Linked DNA regions of Homo sapiens: region 2 is linked to region 1. Evidence: promoter capture Hi-C in 16 types of primary human blood cells and fetal thymus (Javierre and others, 2016). All regions are on one chromosome and are shown on one strand. Each heading gives the region's core, a stretch centred on a gene start or on the middle of the fragment in contact. The rest is flanking DNA. Distances are from core to core; before and after follow the strand shown.

The links. The method cuts DNA at HindIII sites, captures the fragments that hold promoters and counts their contacts. A CHiCAGO score of 5 or more calls a contact.
Region 2: a contact is called between a fragment that was not itself captured here and the fragment with the promoter of PRMT3 in region 1, in 1 of 17 cell types (activated CD4 T cells). The highest score is 5.3, in activated CD4 T cells.

What each region holds. Positions count from the first base shown.
Region 1 is chr11:20,385,630-20,390,743 of GRCh38, reverse strand. It overlaps PRMT3 (protein arginine methyltransferase 3), which reads right to left and starts at 3,028. Exons shown (of 16, transcript NM_005788.4): 1 at 2,970-3,028; 2 at 2,590-2,725; 3 at 918-1,000. The coding sequence starts at 2,997. RefSeq lists enhancers at 2,158-2,207, 2,063-2,669, 2,670-3,277, 3,151-3,320 and a silencer at 2,758-3,317. The HindIII fragment of the contact is 3,061 bases long and covers 2,382-5,114 here.
Region 2 is chr11:17,275,794-17,280,907 of GRCh38, reverse strand. It overlaps NUCB2 (nucleobindin 2), which reads right to left and starts at 4,169. Exons shown (of 14, transcript NM_005013.4): 1 at 4,080-4,169. RefSeq lists a silencer at 3,906-4,335 and an enhancer at 4,526-4,615. The HindIII fragment of the contact is 1,964 bases long and covers 2,883-4,846 here.

The DNA of each region.
Region 1 (5,114 bases), core at 1,779-4,278:
CCTCCCAAAGTGTTGGAATCACAGGCGTGAGCCACAGCACCTGGCCTATTTAGTTAATTTTATTGTAGTATAGCTCTTCTACATCCATTTAAAGTGGAAGGCCTTAATTGTAAGGCAAGTGTGTTTAAATAAAAGTTTCAATAGAAACATCACCTGAGTATTTTGCATATTAATCTTAACTTCATCACTCTTTTTCCAGTCTCTACCGAACTTTGTATAAAACTCAGTCTCGTAGGCTGTGAAGTTCATGTCATGCTTTGAGCTGATTGTCTTTTTTCAAATGACCTGCGTCCTTTTTCAAGTCCTACATCTACACTTGCTCTCCCTAAATCTAATATGTAATCACATAAAATGTAAAAATGTAATCACATGCCAAGTCTGTTTTTGTTTTTAGTTGAAAAGCTAATATAAGCTTAAATACAGTGAATCTTGTCTAGAAGAGTGACTTATTCATCTTTTCTCAAGGACCGCTTGTCAAAAAAACTCCATTTCCACAAGATGTTGCTGTGTGATTCGCCATATTAAACTCGTACAGAAAAGGGTCTGAAAAACTATAAAATCTGAACTTATATTTCACAGATTTTTTTTTTTTTTGAGAAGAGTCTCACTCTGTTGCCCAGGCTGGAGTGCAGTGATACCATCTCAGCTCACTGCCACCTCTGCCTCCCAGGTTTAAGCAATTCACCTGCCTCAGTCTTCTGAGCAGCTGCTATTACAGGTGTGCGTCACCACACCCAGATAACTTTTGTATTTTAGTACAGGTGGGGTTTCAGCATGTTGGCCAGGCTGGTCTTGAACTCCCGACCTAAAGTGATCCACCCACCTCAGCCTCCCAAAGTGCTGGGATTACAGGTGTGAGCTGCCATGCCTGCCCAAATTTCACAAATTAAATTGCCTTTATTCTAAAAACTACTCACCATGTTTATGAACCATGCTGTCAATATTAAACTGATGCTCAGACTTACAGTGTGAAAATGTTTCTTCAGCAGATGTGAATAACCTGAAAAATCAAGCAATAGCTTCATGGAATAGTCCCCTAAGAAGTCTAAATACTGATTTCATGTTACATATACACTTTTTTTTTTTTTTTAACTCTGCTGGTTTCTAGTTTTACTTCCAATTAAGAAAAAACAAACACACTTGTATCTGAAAGGAAGGGAATCCAGCACTTTTAAAGGGAATTAGTACTTCTGAGTCCCATTTTATACCTAAAACCAATTATCCTTTAAATGTCAAAGTGAATTTATTTGTCAAATAATATCACTGATTTTATCAAAAGGCTTTTAAGAGAGTTCCCTTTGATAGAGTCTGTTTCTCTCAAGTCATACAATTTCTCTACTTGAGATTCTTTTCTCCTCTAAGTGTCAACTCTGCTTTCAGAGGCTTTGAACTGGCACAGCTCAAACTGCTTTTAGAAATAAAGCATAAAATGTAATTTTACAGCTGGCATACTCCCCAAGTGCCTTATTTCAAAAGTGATCTTGTAGTATTCCCAACGTACTTGCATCACAGACACTGTGAGGATCAATCCTCTTTATTATGTGACATGCAAATCTGAAGGCTACTTAAAGACAGGAATACACAGCAGAGAAGCTGTATACCTTATCTATATTCCTAACACATGTGGAGCATTAGTTTTCCACAAATGTTTACCGAGATAGGTTATGTCGACTATTTATGGAGGCTATCACAGCCACGGTACCACTGGTGCTCAATAAATATTTTATGACAACTAGAATATATACAGGCATTCTATCTACCCAATGGGGCTACAGATGAGAACACTAACGCACCACCACTCAGCACCATGCCCAGATACAGGGAACACTGGAAAATGTATTAAAGTAACACCGGCCAATGCCAACCGGGCCTCTTTCATGCCTACTTGCCTAGGACAGGAGCCAAAGCTTCCCAAGACTAACAGGCAGAATTTTAAGTGGCAAGAATGTGAGTTTGGAAATAAGCACACCACAGCTTTGTGACCTTGAGCAAATTATTGATACTACAGTCTTTTTCCTTAAGTGAAAAGTCCTACTTAAGTAAGGTGAACTTCCTTCTTAGACTATGGAAACCGCTCAAATAAAAAAGAAATGTTTCACCTGAGAAGCTCTGTACTGGTCAAAGAATTAGCATGGTAAAGCCGGAAGGCTCCGTAGGGATTATCTAGTTCAGGGTGGCTGCCAAATATGTTACTCGTTAGTAGTAACTCGTTAGTAACTTCACTGTTACTTCCGATCTTGTCCTCATAAAAACAGAATATTCTTAGACCCCATCCCTGACTTGGAAGGATTCAGGTGCAGAGTTCAGTATCATTTTGTTTTCAGCGTCTCAAGTGACAAGATTTGGGAACCACAGATTCAATGCACTACCAGTCAAAAGCTTGCAGTACAACCGGCCTTCCAGTTCACGGTTCCCCCTCTCTACTACCGAGGGTCCTCCTTCTCCACAAGCCCTCACCCCAGACCAGTGGTTCCAGAATTCAAAGACAGGCCACTCTGGCTTGCCTCCCGCCCGAAGGCGTTCCTGGGCACACAGACCCCACGCGCCCGGGCACCCTAGGGCAGAGGCCAGGCGCTGAGGCGGACGAACCTGTTACAGAACAGGCAGGGGGTCTGCTGCTTGCCGTGGGGGAGATCTGCATCGTCCTCATCCTCCCAGGCGGCCTCGTCCCCGCTGTCCGACAGTTCTGGCAGGTCCTCCTCATTCTCCACAGCGCCCCGGCCGCCTAACACACACACACAACAATCAGATCGGCCTCGGACACCGGTGCGGCCCGGGGGCTCGAGGAGCAGGTGACGATGGGCTCTCCTCCGCCCCGTTCGCCCGCGGCCCTCACTCAGCACCTCCTTCATGATCCCTGCGAGCCCCCCACCCTGCCCGGGCCCGTGTCCCGGAGGGTCTTCCACCGGCCCCACAGCGGCGCGGCCTGGGGCTGGACGAGCCGGGTGCTGAGGGGCCAGGGTACCCACCGGTAGCGCCTGACGCTAACGAGCACATGGCTGTGGTGCCCCGAGAGCCCGGCGTGTCTGGGGGCGGGGACCGGGTTGGGCAACGAGCGCGCGCAGCGGCCGCCGACTCCAGGAACGAGCGCGAGCACAAGCGCGAACCCGCGGCGGGACCCGGGCTCCGGAAACTTCGCAGACCGCCGGGAACGCCGAAGCGCGCGCGCTGGCTCGCAATCGCTTCCGGCCTCGAGGCGCCGTGCGGGTCACGTGAGGTGGGGGCGGGGCGAGAGCGGGGGCTCCGCCTCCTCCTGCCGCAGGGTTGGCGCAGTGCGCGCTGAAGAGGCGCGCTGATGACGGTTAATGTTGCAGCCCGGAAGATGACTTTTGTCTCCTCCTTGGGTTGCGGCAGGCGTTAGTGGGAGGTCGCGGCCCGCTGCTGTGAGCCCCAAGGCAGAGAGACGTCGCTGCGGTTTTGGGGTTGGCATCCTGTCCTCTGTGCGCCCCTTTTTCCTGGGATGAGCGGTTAGCGGAGGGGCGATCGGCCCATGACGCCCTCTGGTGGCGGAGGAGGCCAAACGCTGGAGGCTCGGCTGGTTTCTGGGCTCCCAGGTCCTGGAGGGGGTGCAGCTGGCGAGAGGGAACGAACTGCATGGGCCAGGGTGGGTCTACTGCAGGGACAGATAGGTGTCAAACCCCCCAAGACGGATTTTAATCTTTGGTTAAGTGAGAACGTGAACTCTAGAGGCAGCCTGCTGGGTTTGAATCCTACCCACGTCACTTTGTAACTGTGATCTTGGGCAAGTTACTCGACCTCTCTCTGCCTCAGTTTCATCAAATACAAAACAAGGATAATAACTGCACTTGGGCAGGGCACGGTGGCTCACGTCTATAGTACCAGCACTTTGGGAGGCTGAGGCGGGCGGATCACCTGAGGTCAGGAGTTGGAGACCAGCCTGGCCAACATGGTGAAACCCTGTCCCTACTAAAAATACAAAAATTAACCAGGTGTGGTGGCACGCGCCTGCAATCCCAGCTACTTGGGAGGCTGAGGCAGGAGAATTGCTTGAGCCCGGGAGGCGGAGCTTGTGGTGAGCCGAGATTGTGCCACCGTACTCCAGCCTGGGCAACAGAGCAAGACTCCATCTTAAAAAAAAAAAAACAAAAAACAAAAAACCTGGACTAACTTCAGAACTACAGTAAGGATAAAACGAGTTAATACATGTAAAGTGCTCAGACATAACTATTTAAGCCAGGGAGTGATGCTCTCAGATGTGTTGAGAAAGTAACAATCTGGCTGCTGTGTGGGGAAGAACACAAATGTTCCCCTGCCTGCCTCATGCCACGTCCCTTTCTTCCTTTCCTTATATCTCTTCAAACCATAGAACTTTTTTTTGTTTGATTTTTGAGACGGAGTTTCGCTCTTGTTGCCCAGGCTGGAGTGCAATGGCACGATCTCAGGCTCACCGCAACCTCCACCTTCCGGGTTCAAGCGATTCTCTTGCCTCAGCCTCCCGAGTAGTTGGGATTACAGGCATGCGCCACCACGTCCGGCTGATTTTGGATTTTTAGTAGAGACAGGGTTTCTCCATGTTGGTCAGGCTGGTCTGGAACTCCCGACCTCAGGTGATCCACCTGCCCGCGAGCCACCGCCCGGCCCAGAATTCTTGCTTAGGAGGGAGTGCCCCAGGCTCTAGCAGAGTTTATCTAATTGGCCTATCAGGCCCTGCATAATCCTGCCTCTTTCCAATGGAACCCTTCACCTTGGGTCCCACCCTTAAGCCTTTTATTTACTGCTAATCATTGAATGTTCTACACATGGGTAGGTCCCTTTGGTCTCAACCAGAAACACTTTCCTCAGGCCATTTCTAAAATAGTTTCCACCATTATTTCAGGAGTATCCTGTTAGTTTCTTAGCACCCACCATTTGCTTACTTGATTTTTTTTTCTTTTTTGGTGATACCCCACAGCACTGAACAATAAGGGTAAGTAAGGGCCATGTCTCTTTACTTTCATTTCTCTGGCACATAATATGTGGCCTGGCCCATAGTATTAATAGATACTGAATGTATTCACTGAATAAAAATGATGCCTTATATTATTGCTAAATGTACTTCTAAATGTACTTTTCTCCCTTAATTGTAAATTCCTAGAGGACAGAATCCATTAAAT
Region 2 (5,114 bases), core at 2,615-5,114, 3.1 Mb after region 1:
CACCACGCCCAGCTAGTTTTTAATATTTTTGGTAGAGATGGGATTTCACCATGTTGCCCAGGCTGGTCTCAAACCTGTGAGCTCAAGTGATCTGCTCACCTTAGCCTCCCAAAGTCCAAGGATTACAGGCCTGAGCCATCATGCCCGGTCTTACAGTCATTTTTGAAAGGCCACATTAGAGCTCTTCTCTGAACATTGCCAGAACCAAAGTCCTGATGCAATCATAGACCAATGAAAGCAATGCATCCAACATAATCTCTTCCTTCCAACCTTAAATCAGAACTGTAGCAAGAGACTCAGGTTTCCTTCTCTAAGACACTGCCTTGAGCTAGGAAACGTGGATTGCTTCTTCTTACTATCAATGTCACAAATCTAATGATGAAACAGGGTAGGGTGAAGAAAAATAAACGGCTTTTGAGTTTCTCCATGGCACCAGTTTCAAAGGCCACAGATAACCTGGTGCTCACCTCCATTTTCCCTTTGAAAATGAAAGTCAACAGGAAAGTGAGGTTCAAATAAAATATCAAGTGTATGACCAGCTGAGTTGGACTCCAGCTTTTCCCTGATCAAGACATTAGTATAGATCTTAGAGCCTCTGTTGTCTACATCTGTAGAAAAGGACACTCATCAATGAAACTATTATATCTCCTTTTTTTCCAGTCTTAACAACGGATTGGAGTATCCTAGATTATAGGCTTATGAAAAACAGATCTGTATCACTCAATAAACATATTATTAAAATTATAATCTCTTTATTATTTACATATACTGTACTTCAGATAATTAAAATACACTGCCAAAAAAAACTCTGCCAAGGCCAGGTGTAGTGGCTCATGCCTGTAATTCCAGCACTTTGGGAGGCCAAGACAGGCAGATCGCTTGAGCCTAGAAGTTTGAGACCAGCCTGGACAACATGGCGAGGCCTCTTCTCTACAAAAAAATACTTAAAAATTAGCAGGGTGTGGTGGCATGCTCCTTTAGTCCTAGCTACTCAGGAGGCTGAGGTAGGAGGATCACTTGAGCCTGGCAGTTCCAGGCTGCAGTGAGCCATGATCACACCACTGTACTCCAGTCAGCCTGGGCAACAGAGTGAGGCCCTGTCTCAAAAAAAAAAAAAAAAAAAAAAAATGCTCTGCCAAAAATAAAATCAAGTAACTACTATCTGAACTTCTATTAGGCTGCTTTAGGATTTTAGAATCAGAGAATTCTAAGATCAGAAATAATCTTGGAGGTACAGTAGTCCTCCCTAATCTGCGATTTCACTTTCTGCAGTTTCAATTACCTGAGGTAAAACAAGATATTTTGAAAGATCACATTCATATAACTTTCATTTCAGTGTATTACTGTTATTCATTTTATTATTATGTATGTATAGCAAAAAACATAGCGTATATAAGGGTTGGTACTACCTGTAGTTTCAGGCATCCATTGGGACCCTTGGAACATATCCCTCTAGGATAAAGGAGGACTACTGTAATCTAATTCAGCCCTACTTTTATAAAAGGTTATAAATACAGAAGGAAGTTAACTGACTTGGCCAAGTTCGTTTGGCAGAGCCCGTACTGGAATCTGGCCATGAAATTCTAACTAAGTATACTTTTCACCACATCATGGTTGTAAAAAAAATTTTTGATTGGAAATAATGAAAGTGATTGAAGTTTTTCCTTGAATAAATTATTTGAAATTGTTAGTAGCCTGTTTTTTGTTTTGTTTTTGAGACGTAGTTTCACTCTAGTTGCCCAGGCTGGAGTGCAATAGCGCGATCTCGGCTCACTGCAACCTCCGCCTCCAGGTTCAAGCGATTCCCCTGCTCCAGCCTCCTGAGTAGTTGAGATTACAGATGCCCGCCACTACGTCTGGCTAATTTTTGTATTTTTAGTAAAGACGGGGTTTCACCATGTTGGCCAGGCTGGTCTTGAACTCCTGGACTCAAGTGATCCACCCGCCTCAGCCTCCCAAAGTGCTGGGATTACAGGCATTAGCCACCATGCCCGGCCTAAAGGATTATTTTCAATACATTTTTAAATCCTGCACTTGCTTCTGCCAGCTACCCAGTACTCAAAAGGGTATTTTGTAGAACCCAGCCTTCAAAAGGGTCCTTAGAAAGTGGAAAGTAATTTACATATTATTCTAAGTAATGCAAAATTAGTTTAGTATGTGTTCAGAGATTAATAACATATCCCAAAACAAAAAAGACATCTGAATTGATGTTATTGATATTAGTGCCCATAATTAGTTGTGTCTTGAAAAGTACCTTAATTGTCTTAATTGTGCATTTTATCTCAACTGTTATTCACAGAGCGCAAACCAACTTGGCAAAAAGCATGCTGAAAGAATATATACAAAATACGTGATATGAACAATATGTACCTTGGGAGAGCAAAGAAAGGTAAACACAACATAGACAGATTCGACTCTTAGAACATGGGTCGTCCAGGCACGGTGGCTCACACCTGTAATCTCAGCACTTTGGGAGGCCAAGGCAAGTGGATCACCTGAGGTCAGGAGTTCGAGACCAGCCTGGCCAACATGGTGAAACTTCGTCTCTAATAAAAATACAAAAAATTAGCTGGCTGTGGTGGTGGGTCCCTGTAATCCCAGCTACTCGATGGGCTGAGGTAGGAGAATCCCTTGAACCCGGGAGGCGGAGGCTGCAGTGAGCTGAGATCGGGCCATTGCACTCCAGCCTGGGTGACAGAGTGAGACTCCATCTCAAAAAAAAAAAAAAAAAAAAAAAGATGGGTAAAATTTGGATAGAGAAGAGCATGAGTAAACACACGGAGACAGAAATAAATTTTTGCCTCCTTTAAGTTTCTAAAATTGTCTAGTTAAAAAAAAAATTTGACCCCCTACTACAAAGGTAGATGAGATCATGGAAAGCTTGAAGACCACGATGAGAAATAGAAGTTTCCATGTTCATCCTAATTAGGAGAGTGACATTATTTGAGATTTCATTTCTAATTCTAAATTTCCAGAATTTTAATTTTTGACCCTATTAGCTGAAGAAGATTTGTTGAAATATTTGTTCAACATTTGTTGAACTTATTCAAGTTTCAAAAAACAAAAACATTCCTTAAAGCATCTATCTCATCAATTCTTTAACTTTCCCATAGGGAAAGTCCACAATCTCCCTCAAACAAAATTCACTATCAGAAATATTTGCATTTAACCTCCCCTATTTTTAAACCAAGGTAATATCTTTTAGTGTTCATATTCGTCCACGGATTTAACAGAGCCTTAGTAGCAGGCTTAAATGGTAGCACTAGCTTATTCAATTGCATAAAATGTACATTATTCAATTTAGAAGTTTAGCAGACATAGAATTTCAAGAGGTTCTGTCTCTCAAAAATCATAATGGTTCCCGTTCATTCTCATTCCCTCATATTCTCTCTCTCTCTCTCCTTCTTTCCCTCCCTCTCCCAGCCATTTGATACTGTAAAATAACTGTCATCTAAGACCGTTGCAAACACCAACCACAATAACCATATTTGCTCACTGAGTTGCCACTTAGCAGGTGCAACAAGGAAATACTGTTTCTCATCTCCTAAAACCAAAAGGGTTCATCTCGTACCTAATTTGTCACTTAAGTGAAAAGCATATCACGACTTACACTAACTTTCTCCTAAGTGTCAGAGGTTGCTGGCTTAACCAGACCGGAGAAGAGCAGGATCCCCGGGCCTAGCTTTGCTGAGCGGCACAGGGGAGCATCGCCTGGAATTGGTGGGTGTCCCTCCTCACTAGTGGGCACCCCCTTGCCCATCGACCTGCCCAAACCCGAAGGGACCCCGCCAGGGTCTCGGTTTGGCACCTACCCTCTCCTGCTCCCCGCCAAGAGCCAGCCACCCTCCTCGACCCCGAAGAAAGCTCGGGTGCCCAGCTGCGAGTGGAGCAGAGGGAACCCAGCGCCTCCGGCTCGCGCTGGGAGCCCCCTCCCCGCCGGTGCCCCGCCCACAGCACGGCCCCCACCATCCTCTCTGCTCTGGCAAGGCAGGCGAAGACCGGAGCCTTATCTCCGGACTCCCCCACCCCTAATCTCCCGCCGCGCTGCTCCGCACCTACCGCGCGGCCACCGGCCTTACCTGGCCGGGTCTCGGCGAGCGAGGCTGCGCCTGGTGCTTGCGTCCAGCGCACAAACCTGTCCTCCAGCCCCCGGCCCACCGCTCCGCTCTGCCCCTCCTCCCGCCGCGCGCGCCCGCCTCCTGGCTGCCATGGCGACAGTTCCCACACTCTGCGGCCGCTGATTGGTCCGGTTCGCGATTGCTGACGACGCCGATTGGCGGGAGCAGGGACAAGGCCGCGCCGGGGAGCCTGGAGGCGGGCGGTGAGGAGGGCCGAAGCTGTGGAGCCTGGTGGGAGGCTGAGCCAGGAGGGACGTGGCGCTCTGAGATGCGGGCTCAGGAGGCCGCGCCTCTTCCTTCCCTAGCTTACCCGGAGAATCCTGTGGAGCAGGACTCGGGCGGGTGAGGTGCCGTCCTGAGACCCGGGCAGAGCCCCAGGGATCGCCTCTCCCTTGGCCTCTGGCCTGCGCCTGCAGCGCCCACGCAGGTCGGAGAATGGCTGTCAGGCCTATTCTCGCCCACAGGCCTCGCTCGGCTCTGACACCCCCGTCCTCCGCCTTGGCGGGAATCTTAACGGCATTTGTAACCGCACCCACCCCCGTTGTGCTGGGCCCTCGGTCACTGTGGTTTAACTGTATTTACCCACCTTCTCTCTTGCCCATTCGCAGACAGCTCTTTCCTCTGCATCCTGCCCCAGAGAACAGACATCTATTCCAAACCCCTCATTTTAAAGATGGGGAAACTGAGGCTCAAAGATGCACATGGGTAGCTTGAGCCTTCCAGAAGCTTTTGGAGCCACAGGCTGTTTACGAAGTTTCATCCTGCCGATTAGTTTTTTTCACCTGAAAAATTGGTATCATATCTACCTTAGGGTTATTCACGAAGATTGAATGAGATAACATTGCCAGGAAAACAGTACAGACTAGGCATGGTGACTCACCCTGTAATGCCAGCACTTTGGGAGGCCAAGGCAGGAGGATGGCTTGAGCTCAAAAATTTGAGACCAATCTGGACAACAGTGAGATCCTATCTCTACAAGAATATTTTTTACTTTTT